Regions from separate parts of the Homo sapiens genome. Here regions 1 and 2 are each linked to region 3. Evidence: promoter capture Hi-C in 16 types of primary human blood cells and fetal thymus (Javierre and others, 2016). All regions are on one chromosome and are shown on one strand. The core of a region is centred on a gene start or on the middle of the fragment in contact, and the rest is flanking DNA. Distances in the headings are between cores, read along the strand shown.

Region 1 (4,739 bases), core at 638-3,137, 360 kb before region 3:
AGCACTTTGGGAGGCCTAGGCAGGTGGATCACCTGAGGTCAGGAGTTGGAGACCAGCCTGGCCAACATGGTGAAACTCCATCTCTACTAAAAATATAAAAATTAGCTGGGCATGGTGGTGGACACCTATAATCTCAGCTACTTGAGAGGCTGAGGCAGGAAAATGACTTGAACCCGGGAGTTGGAGGTTGCAGTGAGCCGAGATTGCGCCATTGCATTCCAGCCTGGGCGAAGAGCAAGATTTCGTCTCAAAAAGTAAATAAATAAATAAATGCAATTACAAAGCCAGGTGCAGTGGCTCATACCTGTAATCCCAGCACCTTGGGAGGCTGAGATGCACTGATCACCTGAGGTCAGGAGTTCAAGACCAGCGTGACCAACATGGAGAAACCCCGTCTCTACTAAAAATACAAAATTAGCCAGGCGTGGTGGCGCATGCCTGTAATCCCACCTACTTGGGAGACTGAGGCAGGAGAATTGCTTGAACCTGGGAGGTGGATATTGCAGTGAGCCGAGATCACACTATTGCACTCCAACCTGGGCAACAAGAGCGAAACTCCATCTTAAAAAAAAAATGCAATTATAAGTGTATTTGCAATCTGGTGTATTTTCATTCATTAAAAATAGCACTTATTGACTCATGCCTGTAATCCTGCCACTTTGGGAGACCAAGGCGGGCAGATCACGAGGTCAGGACATCAAGACCATCCTGGCTAACACACTGAAACCCTGTCTCTACTAGAAATACAAAAAATTAGCTGTGTGTGGTGGCATGCACCAGTAGTCCCAGCTGCTCGGGAGGCTGAGGCAGGAGAATCGCTTGAACCCCGGAGGCAGAGGTTGGAGTGAGCCGAGACCATGCCACTGCACTCCAGCCTGGGCAACAGAGCAAGACTCCATCTCAAAAAAAAAAAAAGTAGCACTTATTTATGAAAACATTAATTGCTTTCCTTAGATTTAGGTCAGTAAACATTTCTGTTGGGTGGGCGTCACTGGATTGGTGTTAACTGAAAGACATTTAACACCACTGGAGTAGACTGAGCACATTGGCTCATACCTGTAATCGCAGCACTTTGGGAGTCCAAGGCGCGAGGATTGCTTGAGCCTAAGAGTTTGAGACCAGCCTGGGCAACACAGTGATACCTCCTCTCTTCTAAAAATAAAATAACTGTCCAGTTGTGGTGGTGGGCGCCTGTAATCCCAGCTGCTTGGGAGGCTGAGGCAGGAGAATTGCTTGAACCCAGGATGCAGAGGTTGCAGCGAGCTGAGACCACGCCATTGCATTCCAGCCTGGGCAACAAGAGCAAAAAACTTTGTCTCAAAAAATAATAATAACAACAAAAAATTAGCCAGGTGTGGTGGCATGTGCCTGTAGTCCTTGCTACTCAGGAGGCTGAAGAAGAAGGATTGCTTGATCCCTGTAGTTGGAGGCTGCAGTGAGCCATGATCGCACCACTGTACTCCAGTTTGGTAACAGTGAGACCCCGTCTGTGGAAGAAAAAAAAAAGACCACTGGAGTATCAGAACTGGGAGAAAGTGATGATACTTTAAAACATTGATAATATACTTCTCCCTATTAATCCTCTAAAAAAGAGTGCAGAAACAGCTTGATTGTATTTACAGTGTCTCATGCTCAGTGGAGGTGCTCACTTGTCTAAGTACATTTTACCAATATATTAATTTTGACTGATTTTTGTTTTGTTTCATTTGGTTTTCTTTTTATTTATTTATTTTTTATTTATTCATTTTTTTGAGATGGAGTCTCATTCTGTCGCCCCGGCTGGAGTGCAGTGGCACGATCTCGGCTCACTGCAAGCTCCACCTCTTGGGTTCATGCCATTCTCCTGCCTCAGCCTCCCATGTAGCTGGGACTACAGGTGCCTGCCACCACACCCGGCTTATTTTTTTGTATTTTTTTTAGTAGAGACAGGGTTTCACCGTGTTAGCCAGGATGGTCCATCTCCTGACCTCATGATCCGCCCACCTCAGCCTCTCAAAGTGCTGGGATTACAGGCATGAGCCACCACGCCCGGCTAATTTTTTTGTATTTTTTTAGTAGAGACAGGGTTTCACCATGTTAGCCAGGATGGTCTCCATCTCCTGACCTCGTGATCGCCCGCCTCAGCCTCCCAAAGTGCTGGGATTACAGGCGGGAGCCACCACGCCCGGCCTTGTTTTGTTTTATTTCGAGTTGGAGTTCCACTCTGTCACTCAGGCTGGAGTGCAGTGGCACGATCTGGGCTCAAGCTGTTCTCCTGCCTCAGCCTCCTGAGTAGCTGCGATTAGAGGCATACACCGTCACTCCCAACTAATTTTTTTATTAGAGATAGGGTCTCACCATGTTGGCCAGGCTGGTCTTGAACTCCTGACCTCAAGTGATCTGCCTGCCTCAGCCTCCCAAAGTGAATTTTGACTGATTTTAAGATAAATGTTAAAGAGCCAAGCACAATGGCTTATGCCTGTGATCCCAGCACTTTGGGAGACCAAGGCAGGTGGATCTCTGTTCCATTTGCCCTAGGAGTTTGAGACCAGCCTGGGCAACATGGCAAAACCCTGTCTGTATAAAATCAAAAATTAGCCAGGCGAGGTGGCATGCACCTATAGTCCCAGCTACTCAAGAAGCTGAGATGGGAAGATTGCCTGAGCCTGGGAGGTTGAGGCTCCAGTGAGCCGAGATCGCGCCTGGTCAACAGAGTGAGACCCTGTCTCAACAACAATTAAAAAGAATGTTGAAAGCAATGAAACGGTATACTTCAGTTGTCTAAGTCTGTCACGTTGTCTGTAGATTAAGCAGTATACTTCACTTGTCTGTCACATTATCTATAGACTGTAATACACTGATGACTGAATTTATTTACTTAGGTTTTGAAGGAAGGAAACAGAATGTTCTCGAATTAATAGAAACTACAATTTTTTTTTTTTAGAAACTTCAGAAATATGCTTACCCAGAAACTACAAAATTTTTGTGGAAGCGATAGTTTCTAAAATCTTTAGGATCTGTTTTTTGTATTACTTTAATGCAAAGAAATTTCAGAAATTCAAGGTGTTAATAACAATAAGATTTCATTTTTCTCAGATACACCTGTAAGATCGGAATGGAGTGAACTTCAAAGTCAGGAACGATCTGAACAAAAAAAGTCTGAAGTAAGTCCTTTTGGAATTGGAACAGTTATAGCTTAACATTTCTACTCTTTTGTTAACTAATCTTGCAGTTGTTGAAATAGCTGTCATCTTAAGATCGTTAAATATAGTTTGTAATTTTTGATCGGCATTTCTTATACTAAGATTTCAGATGAAAAGCCCATATAAAAGGTAGGTTCTGAAATTTTTTAAAAGGGTAACCTGATCTACATACAACTATCACTTTAAAGTATTGTTTTCTCAAGCTGTTTTTGAAATATGTAAATTATGCTTCAAATAATTTTGAAGGTATGAATGAAATAGGAGTTACTATTTTCAGGGTCCTAATTCTTTCTTACATTTCTAGATGCTTCCCATTATAACACTAGGCACATAGTCGCTTCTTTTGTTTTTTTCTGGCTACCTGGCATTTCTTTGACATTCGAGAAATGTTTTGGCAATTAAATATTTTGAGGGCGTGGCATGGTGGCTCATGTCTGTAATCACAGCACTTTGGGAGGCCAAGCAGAAGGATCACTTGAGCCCAGGAGTTCAAGACCATCCTGGGCAACATGGGGAGACCTTATCTCTACAAAAATTTTTAAAATTAGCCAGGCGTGGTGGCGCATGTCTATGGTCCCAGCTTTTTGGGAGGCTGAGATGGGAGGATTGCTTGGGCCCCAGAGGTCAAGGCTGCAGTGAGCCATGATCACACCACTGCACTCCAGCCTGAGTGACAGAGTGAGACCCTGTCTCAGCAACAACACATTTGTCCATAGGAGATAACATTTTTTATTAACATTAATACTTTTTGTATTTTCTCCCATACTTTAATATCTCTGAAATTTAGCTACATCTTATATTTGATTTTAAGACATGATGTAGTTTAATTGACATATAAAATACAATAATGATATAATTAGTAATAGTGGCTGGCAAAACACAGCTGTATGTTCCTTCATGCAGTAGCCCATGCTTTTCAGTGCTCATCCAGAAACATTTACTCCAAGGAGAAATAGCATAACATTTTAAAATTTTAAGCCTAATTAAAAAACAATTGTTTGCTTTTCCTCTGATGCTGAAAATGATAGGCCTTGATTTCTTGGGATATATACCCATAACAGACCCAGCTTTCTATTATTTGTATATAAAATGAATGTATTGTAATAGGTATTAAATGTCTTCCTCGTAGGGCTTGATAACCTCTGAAAATGAGAAATGTGGTAAGTTGTTAGATTTTTTTTTTCCTTTTTACTGTAGATTTTATTGATTAATTTCTACAAAATAACATGCTTCATAGTTCATGCTATATAGTTATTTCTGTATGTGAAAATGTCTAGGACAACTCTTGTAGAAGCTTAATATTGTACTATAATTCTTCCAAATTAATTATTACCACCAGATAGTAGTATTGATCTGGAAAATCATGGGAGCATTTACTATCAATAATTACAGGCTAATGGGAAAGAGATTTTTTAAAAATATTTTTCTGTTTTTTATTTTCTGTTTTTAAAAACACCTAGAAGTTAGATCCCGACTTAAATAAATGATGGAATTGCTTCTGTAGAAACCTATTGTTTTAGAAATCTTCCTTTTAGTACTTTTTCATTTATTTGTGAA
Region 2 (4,737 bases), core at 1,862-4,361, 340 kb before region 3:
ACCATCCTGGGTAACACGGTGAAAACCTGTCTCTATTAAAAATATAAAAAATTAGCAGGATGTGGTGGCACGCGCCTGTGGTCCCAGCTACTTGGGAGGCTGAAGCAGGAGAATCGCTTGAATCTGGGAGGTGGAGGTTGCAGTGAGCTGAGATCAGGCCACTGCACTCCAGCCTGGGTGACAGAGCAAGACTCCGTCTCAAAAAAAAGAAAGAAACAAAGAAAAGTAGCAAATTGCGGTGCTCACCTGTAGTCCCAGCTACTCGGGAGGCCAAGGCAGGAGGATTGCTTCAGCCTGAGAGTTCAAGGTTATAGTGAGAAAGAAAGAAAAAGAAAGAAAGAAAGGAAAGAAGGAAGGGAAGGAGAAGAAAGAGAAGGAGGGAAAGGGGAAGAAAAGAAAGAGAAAGAAAGGAGGGAAGGGAGAAGGAAGGAAGGGAGGGAAGGAAGGAAGGGGAAAGAAAAAAATGTTTTCAGAGTTAAACTAAAAAGAGACAATTTTGTGCCTAATTTAAAGGGGAGCAATAAAATGAATTAATGCAATCTGAAGCTTTTGAGAGAAATTCCAGTGAAGAACGGCATCTTCCTTATATTTAGCCTTAAAACGGTTTTTGGATTGTAATATTTTTGTTGATATATATTTAGTACTTTTTTTTTTTTTTTTTGAGACAGGGTCCCACTCTGTTACCCAGGCTGGAATGGAGTAGCACCATCTCAGCTCACTGCAACCTCCACTCCCTGGGGTCAAGCGATCCTCCCACCTCAGCCTCCCAGGTAGCTGGGACTACAGGAGCGCACTAGCAAGCCTGGACAATTTTTGTATTTTTTGTAGAGACGGGGTTCCACCATGTTGCCCAGGCTGGTTTCAAACTCCTGGACTCAAGCCATCTGGTGGTCTTGGCCTCCCAAAGTGCTGGGATTACAGGTGTGAACCACCGCACCCGGCCTATATTTGGTACTCTATTGCAATCTATGAAATCATTTTGGTTTAATATTAAATACAATACTAAATTGAATTAGCTCACTTTTATGCTGGTTTTAGTAAAGTTCTTGTTGCTTTTGGCCTTTTACAGAGGTATCTCCTAATTGCCTGCTTTTAATGGCTATTCTAGGTATCAAAAATTCAGATTATATTAATAACTTTCTAAATAATGGTGTATAAAGTTAATTTCAGTTTTTTAGTACTTTATTCTTCAATTCTGGGTCTTCGTTACACAGCCTTAAAGGCCAGAAATTCATGTTTTCATTCTGGCAAATAGAGAACTGCAAAGGCTTTAACCCAGATTTTGGCATATTTCCACTCAATAAGCAACCCTTGCATATTGTGCTAAACATGGAAAGTAGATCTAGTTTTGAACATAAACTGTATTTTTAACAGATTTGCTGCAACCTGTTCCCTTGTCTCCAAGGTGCATAATTCCTATAAAATATGCAAATGACCAATATTCAGATCGTAAATAATTTGACCAGTAAAAGCAGCAATGCTTGGGTAGCTCAAGGAGATAGTCTCTCTGTTCTAAAGTACGACAAATCTGAGCTTTGTTGAATTAGTGGGGGAAGGGAATTCCAAAGATTCCAGTCATTTTACATTTTGTAGAGATAACGTGGCATAAGTGCTGTTATCATGACTTAATGTACTAGTATTTGTAACTTTAGAACTCTTGCCAATACTTCAAAAAGAACATATTTTTAACTTCTACAGATTTATACCCAAACAGCCAATATGAAGTAAACAAGAAAACAATGTATATTTCTCCTTAAAATATGTTTTTCTGAAAATCAAGGACCAAGGAAATGTTTTTCTGATCACAAAATTCTACAGTAGGATTAGCAGTTTAATGAAAATTCAAATGTACAAACTTTCTGCACATTTGCTTCTAAATTTTAGCTTTGTCTATATACAACCTAGAATATTTCTTTTTCTTTTTCTTTTTGAGACAGAGTCTCACTCTGTCACCCAGGCTGGAGTGTGCAGTGGAGCAGTCATGGCTCACTGCAGCCTTGACCTTCCAGGCTCAAGCAGTCCTCCCACCTCAGCTTCCCGAGTAGCTGGGACCACAGGCGCATGCCACCACGCCCAGCTAAGTTTTGTATTTCTCAGTAGAGATGGGGTTTCGCCATGTTGCCCAGACCGAACTACTGGGCTCAAGCGATCCTCCTGCCTCGGCTTCCCAAAGTGCTGGGATTAACAGGCATAAGCCACCATGCCTAGCCTAGAATGTTTACAATATCTTCCAAAACAATGTGAAAATTGTTAAAGTGATTTAAATAATTTTCTGTATTAGGCTAAGTATTTACCTTTCTCATTGTATTTGAAGGAAGTACACAGTAACATTTTGCATGCAGTTTCTATGCTAAAATTTTTAAATACCAGGATAATACATAGGTATTATAGTTTGGAAGATATAGAGATTAGCTGATGTTAACGTTAGGAAAGAAGGGTTTTTTTGGTTTGGTTGGTTGGTTTTTGTTTGTTTGTTTGTTTGTTTGTTGAGATGTAGTCTTGCTCTGTTGCCCAGGCTGGAGTGCAGTGGCATGATCTAGGCTCACTGCAACCTCTGCCTCCCGAGTTCAAGCGATTCTCCTGCCTCAGTCTCCCAAGTAGCTGGGACTACAGGCATGTGCCACCATGCCCGACTGATTTTTGTATTTTTAGTAGAGATGGGGTTTTACTCTGTTGGCCAGGGTGGTCTCAAACTCCTGACCTCGTGATCCGCCCGCCTCGGCCTCCCAAAGTGCTGGGATTACAGTCGTAAGCCACTGTGCCCAGCCTAGGAAAAAAGTTTTTTAAAATTAAGACTCTATATGTACACATTTCACTGTTTCAGAAAAGTGAAATGCAGTTTATAAGGAATTTTCTGTTGCCATTCAGAATAACAAAATATTCTTAGATCTTTTCAACCTAAAATGAGTAGTCCATTTTAATAATTATTCTACCTACCAATATCACTTTCCATGTAATAGAAATAAATTGAAATTCATAGGTAGAAGCTTTACGTTTAGACTTTATTTTCATTTGAATTGACTTGAATGTAAGGCCAGAGATTTTTGCAAGTTGGATTCTTTGACTAAGGATTCAAAATATTGATAGCTTTTAGCAGTTTGAGTGGCAGTAGGGATTGGAAATGTCATCTAACTCTTTTGCCATTCCACCAGAAGAGGGCAGCAAAGCAAACCAAGAGGAAATTTATGGGTCAAAAAATTTAGAAAAGTCACTCGAAATTCAGAGAGCTTAGTACAAAAGCTTGTTTGGGTGGCTTCAGTGTTTGGGAGTGTATATGAAGTCCCTACTGCCAGAGGCCCCATAGACCATTTTGCAAGAGGCTTGAGCAAATCTTAAAGCTTAAATATATGTTCCTGCAGACTGAGGCCTGTCAAATAAAAATCATTGACCTTGTTGAATGCTTTCCGTGTGCTAGACACTGCTAATCTCTGTATACATATTTATTCAAACTTCACAAAAACCTCATGAGGTAGACTGTCTTATGAATGAATCTGAAAAATACAGACTTTAGATAATGTTTATAAAGTCACACAAAGTAGTACAAAGCCACAATTTAAATCTAGCTCCTATTCTAAAATCCTCACTCTTAACTACTGACCCTATTATATGCTTCTACATTTCAGAGAAGATAGGAATACAGGCTTTAATGGATAAGAAACATATGTGCTAGTTAACTCAGTTGAAAAAGGGGCTAGTTAAGTCAAGGGTCACTGATAAGCTTTATTTTATTTTATGATTTATTTATTTATTTGAAACAGTCTTGCTCTGGCGCCCATGCTGGAGTGCAGCGGCATGATCTGTGGTCACTGTAACCTCTGCCTCCCAGGTTCAAGTGATTCTCCTGTCTCAGCCTCCCAAGTAGCTGGGAGTACAGACGCCTGACACCATACCCGGCTAATTTTTGTATTTTTAGTAGAGACAGGGTTTCACCATGTTGGCCAGGCTGGTCTCCAACTCCTCACCTCAAGTGATATACCCGCTTCATCCTCCCAAAATGCTGGGATTACAGGCGTGAGTCCAAGACACACACACACACACACGCACACACACGTGTGTATGTATGTATGTGTGTGTGTGTATATATATATATATATTGTGTGTAATTTTTTTTTTTGAGACGAGACTTTATGGCCAGGCTGGAGTGCAGTGGTGCAATCTCGGCTCACTGCAACCTCCCCCTCCCGGGTTCAAGCGATTCTCCTGCCTCAGCCTCCTGCGTAGCTGGGACTACAGTCACACACCACCGTGCCCAGCTAATTTTTTTTTTTGTATTTTTAGTAGAGACGGAGTTTCACCATGTTAGCCAGGATGGTCTCGATATCTTAACCTCGTGATCCGCCTGCCTCGGCCTCCCAAAGTCCTGGGATTACAGGTGTGAGCCACCACGCCCAGTCCCCAAGACATATGTTTTAAAGCCTATGAGTTCGCCAGGCATGGTGGCTCACACCTGTAATCCCAGCATTTTGGCAGGCCGAGGCGGGTGGATCACCTGAAGTCAGGAGTTAAAGACCAGCCTGGCTAACATGGTGAAATTCCATCTCTACTAAAAATACAAATATTAGCTGGGTGTGGTGGCAGTCCCCTGTAATCCCAGCTACTTGGGAGGCTGAGGCAAAAGAATCGCTTGAACCCGGGATGCGGAGGTTGCAGTGAGACGAGATCGCGGCATTGCACTTCAGCCTGGGCAAGAGAGCAAGACTATGTCTCAAAAAAAAAAAAAAAACAAACTTCTTGAAG
Region 3 (4,355 bases), core at 426-2,925:
TTTGTTCCAAGATTTACAGCCCTTTTAGCAGTTCTTGTTGTGGTAGCTTGGTAGTGGCGAATTCTCTCAGCATTTGTTTGTCTGAAAAAGACTGTATCTTTCCTTCAAATATGATGCTTAGTTTTGCTGGTTACAAAACTCTTGGCTGATAATTGTTTTGTTTGAGGAGGATGAAGATAGGGCCCTAATCCCTTCTAGCTTGCAGGGTTTCTGCTGAGAAATCTGCTGTTAATCTGAAACGTTTTCCTTTATAGGTTACCTGGTGCTTTTATTTCACAGCTCTTAAGATTCTTTCCTTCATCTTAACTTTAGATAACCTGATGACAGTGTGCCTAGGCAATGATTTTTTTTGTGATGAATTTCCCAGGTGTTCTTTGTGCTTCTTGTATTTGGATGTCTAGGTCTCTAGCAAGGCTGGGGATGTTTTCCTTGATTATTTCCCCAAATATATCTTCCAAATTTTAGATTTCTCTTCATCCTCAGGAACACTGATTATTCTTAGGTTTGGTCATTTAATATAATCTCAGACTTCATGGGGGCTTTGTTAATATTTTTTCATTCTTTTTTCTTTGTCTTTGTAGGATTAGGTTAATCCTACAAAGCTCTGAATTTCTTTCTTCTGCTTGTTCAACCCTACTATTGAGACTTTCCAGAGCATTTGTCTATAAATGTGTCCAATGTTTCCTGAAGTTTTGATTGTTTTTTCTTCATGCTATCTATTTTCTTGAATATTTCTCCCTTCACTTCTTGTATCGTTTTTTGGATTTCCTTGCATTGGGCTTCACCTTTCTCTGGTGCATCCCTGATTAGCTTCATAATTAACCTCTTGAATTCTTTTTCAGGTAAATCAGGGATTTCTTCTTTGTTTGGATCCATTGCTGTTGAGCTAGTGAAATTTTTGGGGGTGTTAAAGAGCCTTATTTTGTCATATTACTTGAGTTGGTTTTCTGGTTCCTTCTCATTTGGGTAGGCTCTGTCAAAGGGAAGGTCTAGGGCTGAAGGCTGCTTGCTGTTCAGATTCTTTTGTCCCATGGGGTGTTCCCTTGATGTAGTATTCTCCCCCTTGTCCTATGGATATGGCTTCCTGAGAACCAAGCTGCAGTGATTGTTATCTCTCTTCTGGGTCTAGCCACCCAGCAAGCATACCAGACTTTGGGCTGGTACTGGGAGTTGTCTGCAGAGTCCTGTGATGTGAACCATCTATGGGTCTTTCAGCCATGGATACCAGCATCTGTTCTGGTGGAAGTGGCAGGGTTGTATAATGGACTCTTTGAGGGTTCTTAGCTTTGGTGGTTTAATGCTCTATTTTTGTGCTGATTGGCTTCCTGCCAGGAGGTGGCGCTTTCCAGAGAGCATCAGCTGTGGTAGTATGAGGAGGAACTGGCAGTGGGCAGGGCCCTAGAACTCCCAAGAATATATACCCTTTGTCTTCAGTTGCCAGCGTGGGTAGGGAAGGACCAGGGCTAGGTGTGTCTCAACTCAGACTCTCCTTGGTTGGGCAGGTCTTGCTGCGGCTGCTGTCAGGAATGGGGATGAGGTTCCTGGGTCAATAGTGTTGTGTACCTAGGAGGATTATGGCTGCCTTTGCTGAGTCATGCGGGTTGTCAGGGAAGTGGGGGAAAGCCAGCAGTCACAGGCCTCACCCAGCTCCCACGCAATCCAAAGGGCTGGTCTCACTCCCACAGTGCCTCCCCTAACAGCACCAAATCTGTTTCCAGGCAGTGGGCAAGCAGGGCTGAGAATTGCCCCAGACTACCCACCTCCCAGCTGCAAAGGAAAAGGGCTCAGTTCTTCCCCCACCTGTGGAGTCTGCATGCTGGATTCCCGTTCTCCCCAGAGTTCTGGCCAGGAGGCTTCTTGCCTGGTTCAAATTGTTATGAAGTTCAGCTGGAGACTTCCTTCTCCCTGTGGCATTTTCCCCACACCTCTAGCTGCCCTCCTGAAGGATCCTGGTGGTGCCAGGTAAGAATGGCCTGCTTGGGGTCCCAGCGAGCTCCCAGGGCCTTTCCCACTGCTTCCTTTACCCTTGTAGTTCACTCGGCTCTCTAAATTGACTCAGCTCCAGGTAAGGTCGGAAACTTCTTTCGCAAACTAGGCCTTCAGTTTCCCCAGTGGGGGTGTGTGTTCGGGGGCGGAGGGTCTCCTTTTCCCACTTCCACAGTTGGGGCACTCACAGGATTTGGGGTGTCTCCTGGGTCCTGCAGGAGCAGTCTGCTTCCTTCAAGAGGGTCTGTGGGTCCTCTCGGCATTCCTGGTTTATTCCTGCAGTTGTTCTGGAGCTAAAATTCATGATGTGAGCCTCCGTATGCTGCTCTGTCTGTCCAAGTCGGAGCTGCAATCTGGTTCTGCCTCCTGTCTGCCGTGGTGATCCCTGTTGTAGTTTCTGTGTGTCTTCTTTTGAGAAATGCCTTGCGCCCTCCCGCTCTTCCAGGATAACTCAGGGCCTCCATCTCCTCCTTTGAAAACTGTAAGTGACATCTACCTCCAGGTCATATTTAATACCTTTCACAACTGGTATGTCCCAGGCCACTGAGAATAGAAGTGGATTATAAATAATTCATTAGGACTTACCGGTGCCAACCATCTGAATATCAGCCCTCTTGGGGTTAAATTAAGTGAGTTAAGTGAGAATTAAGTGAGGTAATGTGCTTGGCACAGTAATATGAAGTGGCTATAGGGTTATCCTCATGGTCCTGGATGCCCAGAACGTGAATGGTCTCACTGAGATTACATGAGGTGCCAGTGGGCAGCAGCCTGCGATGAGACTCTGTGAACACACCCAAGGCCTTAAAGGAGAGAGAATGCTGTGGCACTCTCAGAGAAGAAACCCAGGATGCTTTGGGGAAGAGGCTGGCAGCCTGGTCTTGTTTTCTGCACGTGGAGGCCTCTGGACCATGCACCTGACTATCAAGCCTGTACAGAAGGCAGAGGCGAGGCAGGAGTTAAGCGGTCTGTGAAGGAGGAGACCTGCTCTATTTCTCAGCTGTTGTTCTGTTGAAACAGGTGGATGAGTTTGAGCCTGAAAGGTAATAAGTAAAGGAGAAAGACTGGGAGCACTAGGCTCTGGGATGCCCTCTGCATGAGAAAGATGGGCACTAAACCTGTCTGAGGGGAAGGTGTAGACAGAAATAAACACGCCACAGCCTGGAGTCCAGAACCTTGAAAGTTTAATGAGAACAGTTAGTGAAGCACTGCCCTGTGATTCATCTCCTCACAAACAACACTTAAATCACGTAGGATCAGGGTAGACAACGATCATTTCATTTAGCTACTTAAAGGTTATTTGGAACTCTTAATAGCATGTTGTCAATAGGACCTGGCTTCTAAATCCAGGCAGATAAAAGTCCATTCGTTCCCCAGAGTGGAGGACTTAGGATCTAAGCCAACTCCATAAGCCTGATGCACCTGAATACGTGAGAAAAGGCAAAAGGAGATGGGAGTGAAGGGAGTTGAAGGGAGTTGCTGTGGTTTTGTGGGGTTTTTTTTTTTTTTACTTTTAAAAAATTATTTTATTTTTTCATGATCGCCTCCCAATAAGTCTTAGAAAAGTAATATTGAGGCCAGTGTTATTTTATTTTTTCATGATCGCCTCCCAATAAGTCTTAGAAAAGTAATATTGAGGCCAGGCGCAGTGGCTCACGCCTGCAATCCCAGCACTTTGGGAGGCCAAGGCGGGCAGATCACTTGAGGTCAGGAGTTTGAGACCTGTTCGAGCCTGGCCAACATGGCAAAACCTCATCTCTACTAAAAATACAAAAATTAGCTGGGCATGGTTGTGGGTGCCTGCAGACCCAGCTACTCAGGAGGCTGAGGCAGGAGGATCACTTGAACCCAGGAGGCAGATGTTGTAGTGAGCTGAGATCGTGCCTGTGCACTCCAGCCTAGGTGACAGAGTGAGACTCCATCTCAAAAAAAAAAAAAAAAAAAAGGAAGAAAAGTAATATTGAGAAAGGCAGTCACTGAATAGAAGGTTGCTGTTAGAGGGAATATTGCTATTGTGTTTTGTGAGCAAAGGAACATATTATACAAGCAGCAAGTTATAAGGGCTGTGCACACAAGGGCAGTTTAGTGTTATCAGAAAATAAAGCTTGCAGCCGAATGTGTCTGATGCATATTTAATAAGATCCTAACCAAAGGATATTAGAGCTATAAGGGACCTTGACGATTATCTAATTTAACCTTCTCATTTGCACCATGAGGGAAAGAAATGCAGAGATAACGTGTCCTGGGTTTACACAGTCTACAAGGGGTAGGGCAGGGATTGGCAATCGAGGACTCAGCCCCTCAACTGTCTGTCCAGGGCCATGCACTTCGTCATTACTGTGCTTCAGAGGCCTTGACTGTCCATAGAGAAA

Evidence for each region. The method cuts DNA at HindIII sites, captures the fragments that hold promoters and counts their contacts. A CHiCAGO score of 5 or more calls a contact.
Region 1: a contact is called between a fragment that was not itself captured here and the fragment with the promoter of DDX3ILA1 in region 3, in 2 of 17 cell types (naive B cells and total B cells). The highest score is 5.4, in naive B cells.
Region 2: a fragment that was not itself captured here is called in contact with the fragment with the promoter of DDX3ILA1 in region 3 in 5 of 17 cell types (total B cells, total CD4 T cells, activated CD4 T cells and 2 more); the score reaches 7.7 in total B cells.

Annotation. Positions count from the first base shown.
Region 1 is chr7:77,632,707-77,637,445 of GRCh38, forward strand. PTPN12 (protein tyrosine phosphatase non-receptor type 12) reads left to right here. Exons shown (of 18, transcript NM_002835.4): 15 at 3,076-3,143; 16 at 4,312-4,342. Among named protein-coding and RNA genes, the nearest start is that of APTR, 61 kb to the right of the region's middle. The HindIII fragment of the contact is 5,173 bases long and covers 1-4,474 here.
Region 2 is chr7:77,648,591-77,653,327 of GRCh38, forward strand. No RefSeq gene overlaps it. Among named protein-coding and RNA genes, the nearest start is that of APTR, 45 kb to the right of the region's middle. The HindIII fragment of the contact is 253 bases long and covers 2,986-3,238 here.
Region 3 is chr7:77,988,716-77,993,070 of GRCh38, forward strand. DDX3ILA1 (DDX3 interacting lncRNA 1) reads left to right here and starts at 1,676. Exons shown (of 3, transcript NR_183362.1): 1 at 1,676-1,962; 2 at 2,269-2,467. RefSeq lists an enhancer at 1,150-2,349. The HindIII fragment of the contact is 6,416 bases long and covers 1-4,085 here.